Linked DNA regions of Homo sapiens: all the other regions are linked to region 1. The links are contacts of gene promoters, found by promoter capture Hi-C in blood cells and fetal thymus (Javierre and others, 2016). All regions are on one chromosome and are shown on one strand. The core of a region is centred on a gene start or on the middle of the fragment in contact, and the rest is flanking DNA. Distances in the headings are between cores, read along the strand shown.

What was found. Contacts are between HindIII fragments. The CHiCAGO score rates a contact against its expected background, and 5 or more counts as called.
Region 2: a fragment that was not itself captured here is called in contact with the fragment with the promoter of ORC4 in region 1 in 4 of 17 cell types (naive CD4 T cells, naive CD8 T cells, activated CD4 T cells and 1 more); the score reaches 8.0 in naive CD4 T cells.
Region 3: a fragment that was not itself captured here is called in contact with the fragment with the promoter of ORC4 in region 1 in 6 of 17 cell types (fetal thymus, naive CD4 T cells, total CD8 T cells and 3 more); the score reaches 10.4 in fetal thymus.

The regions. Positions count from the first base shown.
Region 1 is chr2:148,018,907-148,022,822 of GRCh38, forward strand. It overlaps ORC4 (origin recognition complex subunit 4), which reads right to left and starts at 1,831. Exons shown (of 14, transcript NM_181741.4): 1 at 1,727-1,831. It overlaps MBD5 (methyl-CpG binding domain protein 5), which reads left to right and starts at 2,185. Exons shown (of 14, transcript NM_001378120.1): 1 at 2,185-2,778. RefSeq lists enhancers at 1,476-2,073, 2,253-2,352 and a silencer at 1,743-1,902. The HindIII fragment of the contact is 3,631 bases long and covers 889-3,916 here.
Region 2 is chr2:148,559,384-148,563,299 of GRCh38, forward strand. No RefSeq gene overlaps it. Among named protein-coding and RNA genes, the nearest start is that of EPC2, 83 kb to the right of the region's middle. RefSeq lists an enhancer at 887-1,838. The HindIII fragment of the contact is 2,089 bases long and covers 739-2,827 here.
Region 3 is chr2:148,541,841-148,545,756 of GRCh38, forward strand. No RefSeq gene overlaps it. Among named protein-coding and RNA genes, the nearest start is that of EPC2, 100 kb to the right of the region's middle. RefSeq lists a silencer at 968-1,161. The HindIII fragment of the contact is 2,940 bases long and covers 257-3,196 here.

The DNA of each region.
Region 1 (3,916 bases), core at 581-3,080:
CTGTGGCAGCGCTTACATAGAGTTCACACTTTATAGTTTTTCATTATACTATGTATCGATGTTTGTATGCTTAAATACTAAATGTATGGAAAAAGACACAAAATATTTAAAATTGTAGCTAAGGCACATTAACTGCCTTGCTGGTATTTTTTTTTTTCATTACAAAGTGGCAGACAATTGGTTACACTATAAAGACAGACAATTGGTTACACTACAAAGAAAATTTTAAAGCACAGGAGTCTAGTTTTGATTCCATCGGACATGATTACCGTACACAATACAGAAGATACTAAGGGCTAAGCAATGATGCATAAACGGGGTCCACTGCCCAAACTTACAGAAAGCAAAACGTGGAAAATTAGTAACTTTAACTGATAGTGTACACCTAAAGAACCTACACCGGCCGGGCGCGGTGGCTCACGCCTGTAATCCCAGCACTTTGGGAGGCCGAGGCGGGAGGATCATTTGAGGTCAAGAGATCGAGACCAGCCTGACCAACATGGTGAAACCCCGTCCCTACTGAAAACACAAAAAAATTAGCCAGGCGTGGTGGCACATGCCTGTAGTTTCAGCTACTCGGGAGGGTGAGGCAGGAGAACTGCTTGAACCCAGGAGACAGAGGTTGCAGTGAGCCGAGATCGCGCCACTGCACTCGTCTGGGAGACAGAGCGAGACTCCGTCTCAAAACAAAAAACAAACAAAAAGAACCCACCCAACAGAATTAAGTACCAACATAATAAATACGAAGAATTTTAGATTCTTGGTTTTTAAAAAACATACAAAGATGATATTCCTTCAAAATATCTTTACAAAACATATTGAGACTGTGATGCTTTATATTGATTGTATGAAAACAATGAAAAAGAACCAGCACTGTTTCACTATAAAAGCTTTACTAATGTAAATTTATAAATCCTTTCTTAAATATTTTGAGTTAATTCTAATTTTATGATAGAAATTCATTATTTTCAGCAAAAACAGCTGGCATTTGGGAAACCAAAGGCTCAAAAACTAAGAATAGTAACCAAAGAAACTTGACAAAACAGTCCTTTTAAAACTCTCATCTACACTATAAGGGGAAACTTTGATCACGTCCCTTCTCCTTCATCAATCGTAGAACTCAACATTAAGGACTACACAATCCCACATCCCTCTCCGAGAAAAAGCAAAGGCTTTGTGTTGTAGCAACAACGCAAGACATGGAGGGAAGCTCCACTCAAGACTTCCCTGCCTGCTCCTTCCCCAAAGCCACTCCAGAATACCAGGGAGGGTTGAGAGGTAAGGCATGAAGGGCGCAATATCCAATATGAGCAACGCGTGTGATGCATCTGGTCAAAATGCATACAGAGGACTTGTCTCTGTCCCTAGATAGAAGTCCTCCGTCCTGCAGTCATGAGGGTCAATTGCTGAGGCTTCACAGTTCCCTTCTCTCTTACACTCGGACCGTCACGCTCCTCACCTACTACCCCGATGCAGAGGTAGACTCAGGATCCCTGCACTTGTCAAGGATTCCTCGGCAAGCTCACGGGGCGGGAGTGGCCACAAGACGGAGCTCGCCTGGTCCTGGCCTTCCCGGCCTATACAAGCCTGCCCCCTTCCCAATTCCCAATCTCCACAGCCTTCCATCCTCCCACTTTCGATTCACCTTGCGCCACCGACGCCCCTGGCCTTCGTTTGCAGCAAGTTTACCCCCACCATTACCTCTCGCATAAAAGCCTGCATTTACCAGGTCAAAGAGGGGAACCAACGCCTGCAGGAATCGCTTCACCGAATCGCCTGGCCGCGTCCTCTGCTAGACTTCACCTGCCGCTGCGGACCGTACACAACCACTCCCGGCATGCCCCGCGCACGCACTACCTCTCCCACCCCGCCCCTCTCCCGCCCAAACACGTGACCTCCTTTCGTCTCCGTCCACGCCCACTTCCGTTCCTCCACTTTCCCTTAGGAAGGAGGAGGGAGCTGGGGGTGTTAAAAGCGTAGCGACTTCCTCCTCCTCCCCGCCCCCGCTCCTGTACCTCCCGCTACAATGTCTTCCGGGTCGCTAGCGCCTCGACGCCTTCTGGGAAAATAGCTCATTTCCTCCCCTCCCCCTCCTCCTGCCTTCAACCAACCAGCCACCCGTCAGAGAGGGACATGCGCAGTGAGTGCCTCCCGTCTCTTCTACCCGAACCCCCCCTCCCCCCCAAGCAGAGAGACCCCAGCAGCAGCAGCAGCTGATGATGAAGAGAGAGGCAGTGGCAGAGGGGGGGCACCTTTTATTTCTATTTTTAAAGGGACAGGACACTAATTCTACCCCACTTCAACCTTGAATTCAGGGGGGTGGGGGGAAGGCGGCTGAGTTCCTTCCCCCACCCTCCAGCCCTGAGCCCTGAGAGGGGGATTGAGCCTGAGAGAGGAGAAGGAGTTTCTTCTTCTTCGAAAACCCCCATCCACGACTCCTACCCCCTCACCCCTCCAACTCGCCTCCCTCCCTCCACCCTCCTCCTCTTTGGCCGTGAGAGGAGGAGAGAAAGAAACCAAAAGCCTCTTAGCAACACAGACCCTTTGCTGCTGCTGTTGCTGCTGCTGCTGCTGTTGCTGCTGCTGCTGCTACTGCTGCTGCTGCTACTGCTGCTGCTTGGCCCTGGCTGGAGACATCTCACTACACCCAGGAGCAGCCACTTCCCCAGCTCTCCTCCTCCTCCTTCGCCTCCTCCTCCTCCACTCCCCCCCTTTATTACCCTTTGTGTCATCCTCCACAGCTCCAGGGAAGGCACTCAAAAGTGGGGGGCAGGAAAGGTAAGTGTGTCTGTGGGGGCTTCATTGCCTTCCTCTGGCTCTGACTTTCACTCCGGGGCAACAGTAGCACCAAACCACATACGCAGTGGAGCTCCGGGGTGAGGAGGGGGTGGTGCTGGGGGGGGTGAAGGAGGGGTTGGAGTAGGGAGGGGTGTGTGAGGTGGGGTGCCCATCCTGTCAGGGGAGGAAGGGCACTTTTATTTTTATTTGCTGTTGTCAAAAGTGGTTTCTCTCCTCCATCTAACATCTGATTGTGTCTTGCTCCAGTGGGGGAGAATACAAAAACAACCCCCTCCTTCCTCCAATGAGGCGCCAGGGAAAGAGACAGAAAGAGGCACACTTTCTAGATGTCACTTAAAAAAAATTCATTGGAGAGCTCTTTTTCTCCAGGAAAAGCTCCACTGCATTTGTTTCTGAGTGGGAAAATGTCGGGATCTGGATTGTATTGGAACTGCTTATCCATTTGTAGACCTGAGTGTTTTCCCCTTTTTGGTCCTGTATGAGATTTGGATATTGACTTCAGTGTTGGAAGACTTGATTGGTTTTTGCTTTAAGGGTTTCATTTTCCATTTTTTCGTTTTGTCTGACTTCCATGGAAAATTTCAAATTTTTAGTTGGTAGAGGCCTTTGGTTAGGTTTTGACTTGCATTATTGCTTTTTTTTTGGTTAAATGTCTGTTTCATATATCAGTATATAAAGTCCAAAGCTCTAAAATGCTTAAAGTTTAAATGCCACTGCTATTGTCTGTTCCCACATACGTTCCTGATACTTATTTTCCATATGATGAGAATATTAGCTATTTTATAATTAATCTGGGTATATTTGTAATCTTTGTAACTTGTCTGAACAAGTAATCCCCATTGAAAACTTTATGTTGTTCTGGCTGCATGGAAGGCCAAACCTCTCCATCAATAGTTTGCTGGATTGGTACCACTTTCAGTTTTAGCTGAATTATTTATTTACTGTTGTAAATTGAGATGAGTTTTTCATCTCAATTTCTCTTGGGGTTCTGAACCAAATTGCCCACTGTATGTAAAAGTACACAAATTTCTAAAATATGTTTTCATGAGTCAAAGAAATCATGAACTTATAGTTAGTATATTAATTTCAGTTAGCTATAAATTGAAAGGTAAATCCA
Region 2 (3,916 bases), core at 533-3,032, 540 kb after region 1:
AGACCAGCCTGGGCAACATGGCAAAACCCCATTTCCAGCAAAAATACCAAAAATTAGCTGGGCATGCTGGTGCATACCTGTGGTCCTAGCTACTCAGGAGGCTGAAGTGGGAGGATCACTTGAGCCTGGAAGGTGGAGGTTGCAGTTAGCCAAGATCGTGCCACTGCACTCCAACTTGGGTGACAGATTGAGACCCCATCTCAAAAAAAAAAAGAAACAAATATATAATAATTTCCCCATATAAATATTCTTAAAGAATAGCATGATTTTTAATGACTACATAGTATTCTATTACATGGCTATACTATGCTTGTCTGGGGCTTCAGGTTTGAAGTCACCTGGGCCCCACCATACCCCTGATCCCTGGAGAGGTCAAGCTGTCAGTCTTTCCATAGGCCCTGTTGGATGCCTGGCCGAGCAGCTTGAAATCCAGTCCAGCCCATCAGGGTTGGCTTCCTCTCCAAAATAGCCAGGAGCAGATACCTGGGCTTGGGCTGGTCTAACCCATCAGCTTTGAGCTTCCTTTTCTTCCTTTCTCGAGCCTGCCCTCCTCCCCCTGAAGTGCTTCTCCAGGGATTCTGGTGCATCTCACTGCCTTCTGACTGAAGAGCACCCTACCTGTGGCATCCCTTAACTGAGTGTATCACGATGAACTTGGGGCCTCCCCATTTATCACCACACCTCTACCCACCATCACTACCTCCTCTGTCCCTGCCTTGCTAGCTTGTACCTTGCAGAAGCTTCCAAATGTGCATCCTATATTAAGATGTTCTTAGCTTAACGTTATCCTCTCCCTGGGTTTTTGCAGCTGTAAGGAACTATTTCTTCGTATACCAGAAGAATAAGTCTCAGGAGTTTGGAGGAGAAACAAAACACCTATGTTCTTCTGTTCTGGTGAAGTCCTAGACTCTGTGTACTGAGACCTATCCCAAAGATCATTCCTTAAACTCAGGGGCAGATCTCTTGCTTGAGACCGGCCAAGGGATGGGAGTGACTTTTCAGGTCTCTCCACAGGCAGCCTCAGCCTTTTTCTTCCACTCTTTGTGGAGATGCCCAGGACTGTAGTGCAGCCCTGACTGGCACCAACAGCACTGGCTGTGTTCCCAAAACTGTCCCCAGCCACCTAATACATGGTGCAAGTTTCAGAGCCTTTTCTTCCCAGAAAATCTGTGCTAACTCAGGATCCTGAACAGCTGGGAGTGATTAAGCAGGAATCGAAGGGGCAGCATCTCGGGGAGGCAGGGCTTCAAGCTGGCCCTTGGCCTCCAGGAGTTGATGAATCTGTCTCCAGGCTGAGATAAGGGCCCCAGCTGGATGTTAACATATGCTCTGAGCAATGCTGGGCAGGGGAGAGGCAGCCCAGCCTCTAGGACCAGGGCGGCTGTGGGTGGCCCTGAAGGGACTGAGCAACTGGCCCTGACGTTCCCCTTCATGCCTTGGACACTTGTCCTTCTACTGGAATCTAGTCCGTTGCCTTGACTTAGAAACCTCACCAGACCTCTCAGGAGGTCAAGAGAAAGCGGGCCCCAGGACAGGCTCCTAGCAAAATCAGGGCTGGTCAAGAGGTCTCAGAGCTCGTGCTTCAGGCCACCAGCCAAGCTGCAAAGCCTTTTTCCCAGGGCATCTGTGAGAATTCAGGAGACAGGTAAGCCTTCGTAGGCCTGTTTGTGTTCCTAAGGAAACAAGATAATTTCTTGACTCAATTGTAGTTCCCTCACAGCCTGATTGGATAGCTATTATATTAATAGTTCCAACCTCTCTCTCTGGAATAGCCCCGCTGGAGCCCTCTTCCTGCAGAACCCCTCTACAGCTGCCTCCAATTCCTTCCTCCCTAAGGCTGCCCCAGGCCGGCATCTCTCCAGCAAACCCGCCCCGTAGCCTGCTCCCTCCCAGGCACGAGGCTACTGTATGGGAGGTTCTTTTCACAGCGCCTGGCTTGAGTAAAGATGGTCGAAGGTTCTTTTTCCCCCAGCTAGGGCTCCTTGAAGCCCCTTAAACTGTGGAAGGACTTCCAACGGCGGAGGGCATCTCCTCCTCTGTGTTCCTCAGAGGGAAAACCTGGGAGCGCCAAGAATGTGCTGGGACAGACCAGACTTCCTGCCTCAGGTGCCCTCTGACCTCCGGTAATTACAGCTTCGGAAGTGGTCGGCTCCCCATGTAGACATTGGAGATAATGAGCTCCGACTTCCTGGGGCTGCTGGAGGTTTAATTGGTTCATGGTGGCTAAGCGGTTGGCGATCCTGGCCTGGAATTCCGGCGGACGCTGCTCCATCCACAAGGTAAGGGGCAGCCCGAAGTGGGGACCTGGCTGGCTGCCAGCCTCAGCCGCAAGTTGCCTCTTCCCCCACTTCCTCAAGCTGTTCCTAAGTGTCCTGCTACTAGAACCTCTGTCTGGCATGGGTGGTCTATTCCCAGCCTCCTCGTATTGCCCCTTTCCTCACCTGGAATGTCCACTCCATATGTCCTTGTCTGTTGAATTTGAATCATGCCCTGCAGAAATCCCACAGTGCCAGAAGTCCTCACCGTTTATACCAGCCCTACTTGATTTCTCTTCTGTGAAGTCCTATGGACAGGCACTTCTCAAACTCTCATGTGTGGGGGAATCTTACTGAAAGGCAGATCCTGATTCAGAAAGTCTGGGCAGGGGCCTGGGATTCTGCATTTTTGCCAAGCCCTCCATGCTGCCTTTGCTGCTGGTTTGCATGAACACTTAAAGGGGCGGGTCATGGATCTTCCCGTCCCAGTGCCCAGGCCTATTTGTTTGTAGCACAGGCCTTTTCATTTCCCCCAAATGAAAATCAGTATTTCATTCAAATTTATAAGTTTAAGCTTAACATTTATTTGTAAAATCAATTAGACTGTTCAATAGATACAAAAATATGAAATTGAGTGCTATAGATGACAGTAGTCTTTTATCAGCTTCAGCTTCCAAATTTATTTCTGCATTTTATCTCTTAAACCTGGTATGCACAAATAGTTGGAAATACATATATTTTTTAATAACAGCTCATCTAGAAATTTGAGGAGATTCTTCAGAGTAGGTAATCTTGTTAGAAACTGTTCTCCTTTACAATTGCTGTGCCAGCAAGATTTAGTCCAAGTTCTCCACAAAACCATTTAATCTGACAGCAGCATTTAATCCTTTGGTGAGTACAATGTGTTAAAATTTAGTATGTAATCTACGCAAATCAATAAACATAATCCATCATATAAATAGAATCAAAGATAAAAACCACATGATTACCTCAATAGATGCAGAAAAGGCCTTCGACAAAATTCAGCAGCCCTTCATGCTAAAAACTCTCAATAAACTAGGTATTGATGGGATGTATCTTAAAATAATAAGAGCTATTTATGACAAACCTACAGCCAATATCATACTGAATGGGCAAAAACTGGAAGCATTCCCTTTGAAAACTGGCACAAGACAGGGATGCCCTCTCTCACCACTCCTATTCAACATAGTGTTGGAAGTTCTGGCCAGGGCAATCAGGCAGGAGAAAGAAATAAAGGGTATTCAATTAGGAAAAGAGGAAGTCAAATTGTCCCTGTTTGCAGATGACATGATTGTATATCTAGAAAACCCCATTGTCTCAGCCCAAAATCTCCTTAAGCTGATAAGCAAATTCAGCAAAGTCTCAGGATACAAAATCCATGTGCTAAAATCACAAGCATTCTTATACACCAATAACAGACAAACAGAGAGCCAAATCATGAGGGAACTCCCATTCACAATTGCTTCAAAGAGAATAAAATACCTAGGAATCCAACTTACAAGGGATGTGAAGGACCTCTTCAAGGAGAACTACAAACCACTGCTCAACGAAATAAAAGAGGACACAAACAAATGGAAGAACATTCCATGCTCATGGATAGGAAGAATCAATATCATGAAAATGGCCATACTGCCCAAGGT
Region 3 (3,916 bases), core at 477-2,976, 520 kb after region 1:
ATCAGGATTGCAGCAAGAGAAAGTGAGGCATTTATTGCAGGGCGCCAAACAAGGAGAATTGGGCAGCTAACTCCCTGAACTCCCTGATGGCTTACAGGTAAGGGTTTTTAAAAGCGAAGAGGCAGAGGTTACAGGCAAAGTCATAAATCAGTGCATGGAGGTTATACACTGATTTGACCTAAAAAGGCTTGACATCTCAAAGAGGGTCAGAGGTGGATTCAAAGATTTTCTGATCTGCAAGTGGTTCAGGAGGCAAAGCTTTGTCTAAAAATTTGAGCTCAGCAGCCTGGGCAACAAAGCAAGACCCTGTCTACACACACACACACACACACATACATATATAAATTGGTGCAACGGCTCACACTCATAATCACAGCTCTCAGGAGGTTGAGGCAGGAGGATTGCTTGAACTCAGGAATTGGAGGCTGCAGTGAGCTATGATCACCACTGCCCTCCAGCCTGGACGATAGAGTGAGACTCTATCTAAGATAAAAAAATAAAATAATAAAATAAACTTGGGATCAGTAGGAAAGAGTGTTAGTTCTGGCCTAGGGTTGTGACCTCCTCCAGGGCCCTGAGGAAGAAATTGACAGTAGTCAGAGTTCAGTCCTCAGTTCCCCCTTATCTGAGGTCTTTGTGCCAGTGGATGCAAAGTCTGCAGGAGACTGGGTGTCTAAACAAAGTCTGCAGGAGACTGGGTGTCTAAACAACCACTCGGGGGCACGTGTTAAGATGCGTTCTTTAATTTCTAGAGGGAACCAAACATCCCATGATTCTAGCTCCTTGGCTGTTCTTTTAACCTACTATTTACCTTCTTGCTTATCAAGTTGCTTACTTACTTCTCAGGGCCAGCTAGGTGCCTAGAATTCCCCTTGAGGAAACCCAGGAGTTTCCTTTGTTTCCATGTTTTTTGGCGATGGCGAGGTGCCTGCTAGGCCTCTAAGAGGGTTCCCTCCTTTGTCTCATTCTCACAGCAATCCACAGCAGCAAAGGCCGGGCACAAGTTTCCTATCAGCCCCTTGGAAGGTGACACTTAATCTTGTGTCCGGAACTTCAAGTTAATGTCATTCAAAGCAGGATGGTGTGACATTAGGAAAAACTGTCTGGGTCGAAATGGTGCCAGGGTATGCCAATGTTTCCACCTTCTGAGAGACCCCTCGTACCACTGCCTGCCTCCTGCATTCCAAACAACACGGGTGACTGCAGGATCCGGGGTCCCCTCCCTTTTCTCTCAAAATAAGGAAACGGAGATCCAAAAAGGTTTAATAGCTCATTCCACCAGTTAGGGAGAATGCTCACTCAGCCTTGGGTTTGTTAGAAGAGTCTTGGTTACTTACAAAGATTTATCTCTTTGTTGTAAAAAACACAGTGGCTTGAAGGATATGAAAATTTATGACATAGGAGGCTGAGTTGGGCTTATCACTTGAGGTCAGGAGTTTGAGATCAGCCTGGCCAAAATGATAAAACCCATCTCTATGAAAAATACAAAAATTAGCCAGGCGTGGTGTTGGGAGCCTGTAGTCCCAGCTACTCGGGAGACTGAGACAGGAGAATCGCTTGAATCCGGGAGGTGGAGGTTGCAGTGAGCCGAGATTGTACCACTGCACTCTAGCCTGGGCAACAGAGTGAGACTCTGCCTCAAAAAAAAAAAAAAAGAAAGAAAGAAAAAAGGATGAAAATTTATCCTTGAGGGGAATTGAGCGATAAGGTGGCCTTCAGGGTTGTTTGATCTGTCAGCTCAACACTGCTGCCGAGGACTTGGGCTTCTCCCAGCTTTCTGCTCTGCTGCTTAGCACATTGGCTTCATCCTGAAGCTGGTTTTCTTCCAGGTTGCAGCATGGTTGCTGGTGGTACCTGAGGCCACCTCCTTTCTCCCTCCTGTCTAGCTGAGTAGGAGAGTAGGGAGAACAGTTCTCAGAGACCCACCAAACCTCTCCTTCTATGCCGCGTCCTTCTAGAACTAATCATCGGCAGGAAGGTTGGGCTCACTCTGATGGGCTGAGACTAATCAGGGCTGGAGGTGGGAATGGGTCACCTTCCCTTGAGACACAGGGCTGTGTGTGAGGAGATGACACCTGCATGAAATCAAGCGGTTATTTTAGGAAACAGCAAAGGAGCAAGAGATTCTGGGTGACCATCCCAGGGCCCAGTACAAGCTCTGACTGTGATGGACACTACAGGGCTACAGAAAAATATTGTTTTATTTACTTTTTAAACACTTTATCATGGAAATTTTCAAACATATAAAAAGTGGACAAAATAGCATAACAGATCATCCTGTACACATAATCCAGTCTCAATAATTATCAACTCAGAGCCTATTTTTTAAATCAATTTTCCTGCCCACGTTCCTCTCCAATGTATTAAAATCTCAGATATCAGCCAGGCACAGTGGCTCAGGCCTATAATCCCAGAACTTCGGGAGGCCAAGGCAGGCAGATTTCTTGAGCCCAGGAGTTCAAGCCCAGCCTGGGCAACATGGCAAAACCCCATGTCTACAAACAAACAAAAATTGGCTGGGCATGGTGACACACACCTGTAGTCCCAGCTACTTTGGAGGCTGAGGTGAGAGGTTTGCTGCTTGACTCTAGGAGGTCCAGGCTATAGTGAGCCAAGATCGTACCACTGCACTCCAGCCTGGGTGTCAGAGTAAGACTCTGTCTCAAAACAAAACAAACATCCCAGACATCATATCATTTCAGCATGTAACTTTATTTCATGCATGTAACTTTAAAAGACAAATTATTTCAGCATGTAACTTTAAAAGACAAAGACTCTTTTTAAGACAAAATCATAGCTCACCTAAAAAGTGATTAATCAAAACTAATTAAAAGTAATTTCTTAACATCTTCAAATTATGTAGTCAGTGTTCAAATTTCCAACTTTCTTATATGTGACAAAATTTCTTTCTGCAATGCATTCAAGGGTAAGTTCTTAGAGATCAGTCTTGTCCTTATCTTTCAAAATAAGGAAATAGAGATCCAAAAAGGTTTGATAGCTTACCCCAAGGCCATTAGATTTATTTTAATTGATCATTTTATCCTGCCTTTTTTCTTGATGTATTTGAGGCAGATCATCACGCAGTGGAAGACCCAAAAATTCATTCATTCATTTAGCAAATGTGGTTTGAGCATCAGCTCTGTGCTTAATTCGGCCAGTGTGGTCACAGCACTGGGATCTGTAATCAGAAGACGTAAGCTTCTACTCACAGGGCTTCTGCCTATGACATTAGGCAAGTCTCCCCTGTCCATCTGTCTTGGTGCCTGAAATCCCCATGAGAGTCACTCTTTTGAGTTAGGGAGTTGTGGGAGGCCCCCCTTATGAATGTACACACATATTACTTTACTGGATAGTTGTTCTTTCGGGATGCCGACATTGAACACTCGTCCTATTTTGGAGAAATCCTAGAATAGGTGGTGGGGATGGGGCAGTGGGGGAGAAAGGGCTCCTCCCTCACTACAGAAACAAATGGATGCATGGTCTTTTCCCATTCCAGGCAGCTAGAGAGGGACGCTGGGTCTGGGGCTTGCAATCAAGTGCCGCAGCCCGAATCATCAAGCTTGAAGGAGTGACACAAAGGCCTGGGGCCACTGAAGATGACCCACGGGTGCCTCTGCCAAGGCCAGTCCAGGGCAGTTGTGTTGAGTGTCCAGAGCCACCAGGGTGGCACCAAGATGATGGTCCCCCAGGAGCCACCTCTGCTCAGCCTGGCCTTGTCTGCTTCCACAGCAACGTGGTTCCTTCCCATCCGTCCATGCTGTGAGCTGCCTGTCCTTCCAGTAAGTGACATTTCTGCTTAAATTGCCTAGTCACTTCCTGCAGTTGGCAACCAACATCTCTGACTAAAGGAGTCCATTGAGAACAACAATCTAGTAACATGATAGGTGTTTTCCAACATTGTTCTGATTGGCTTATC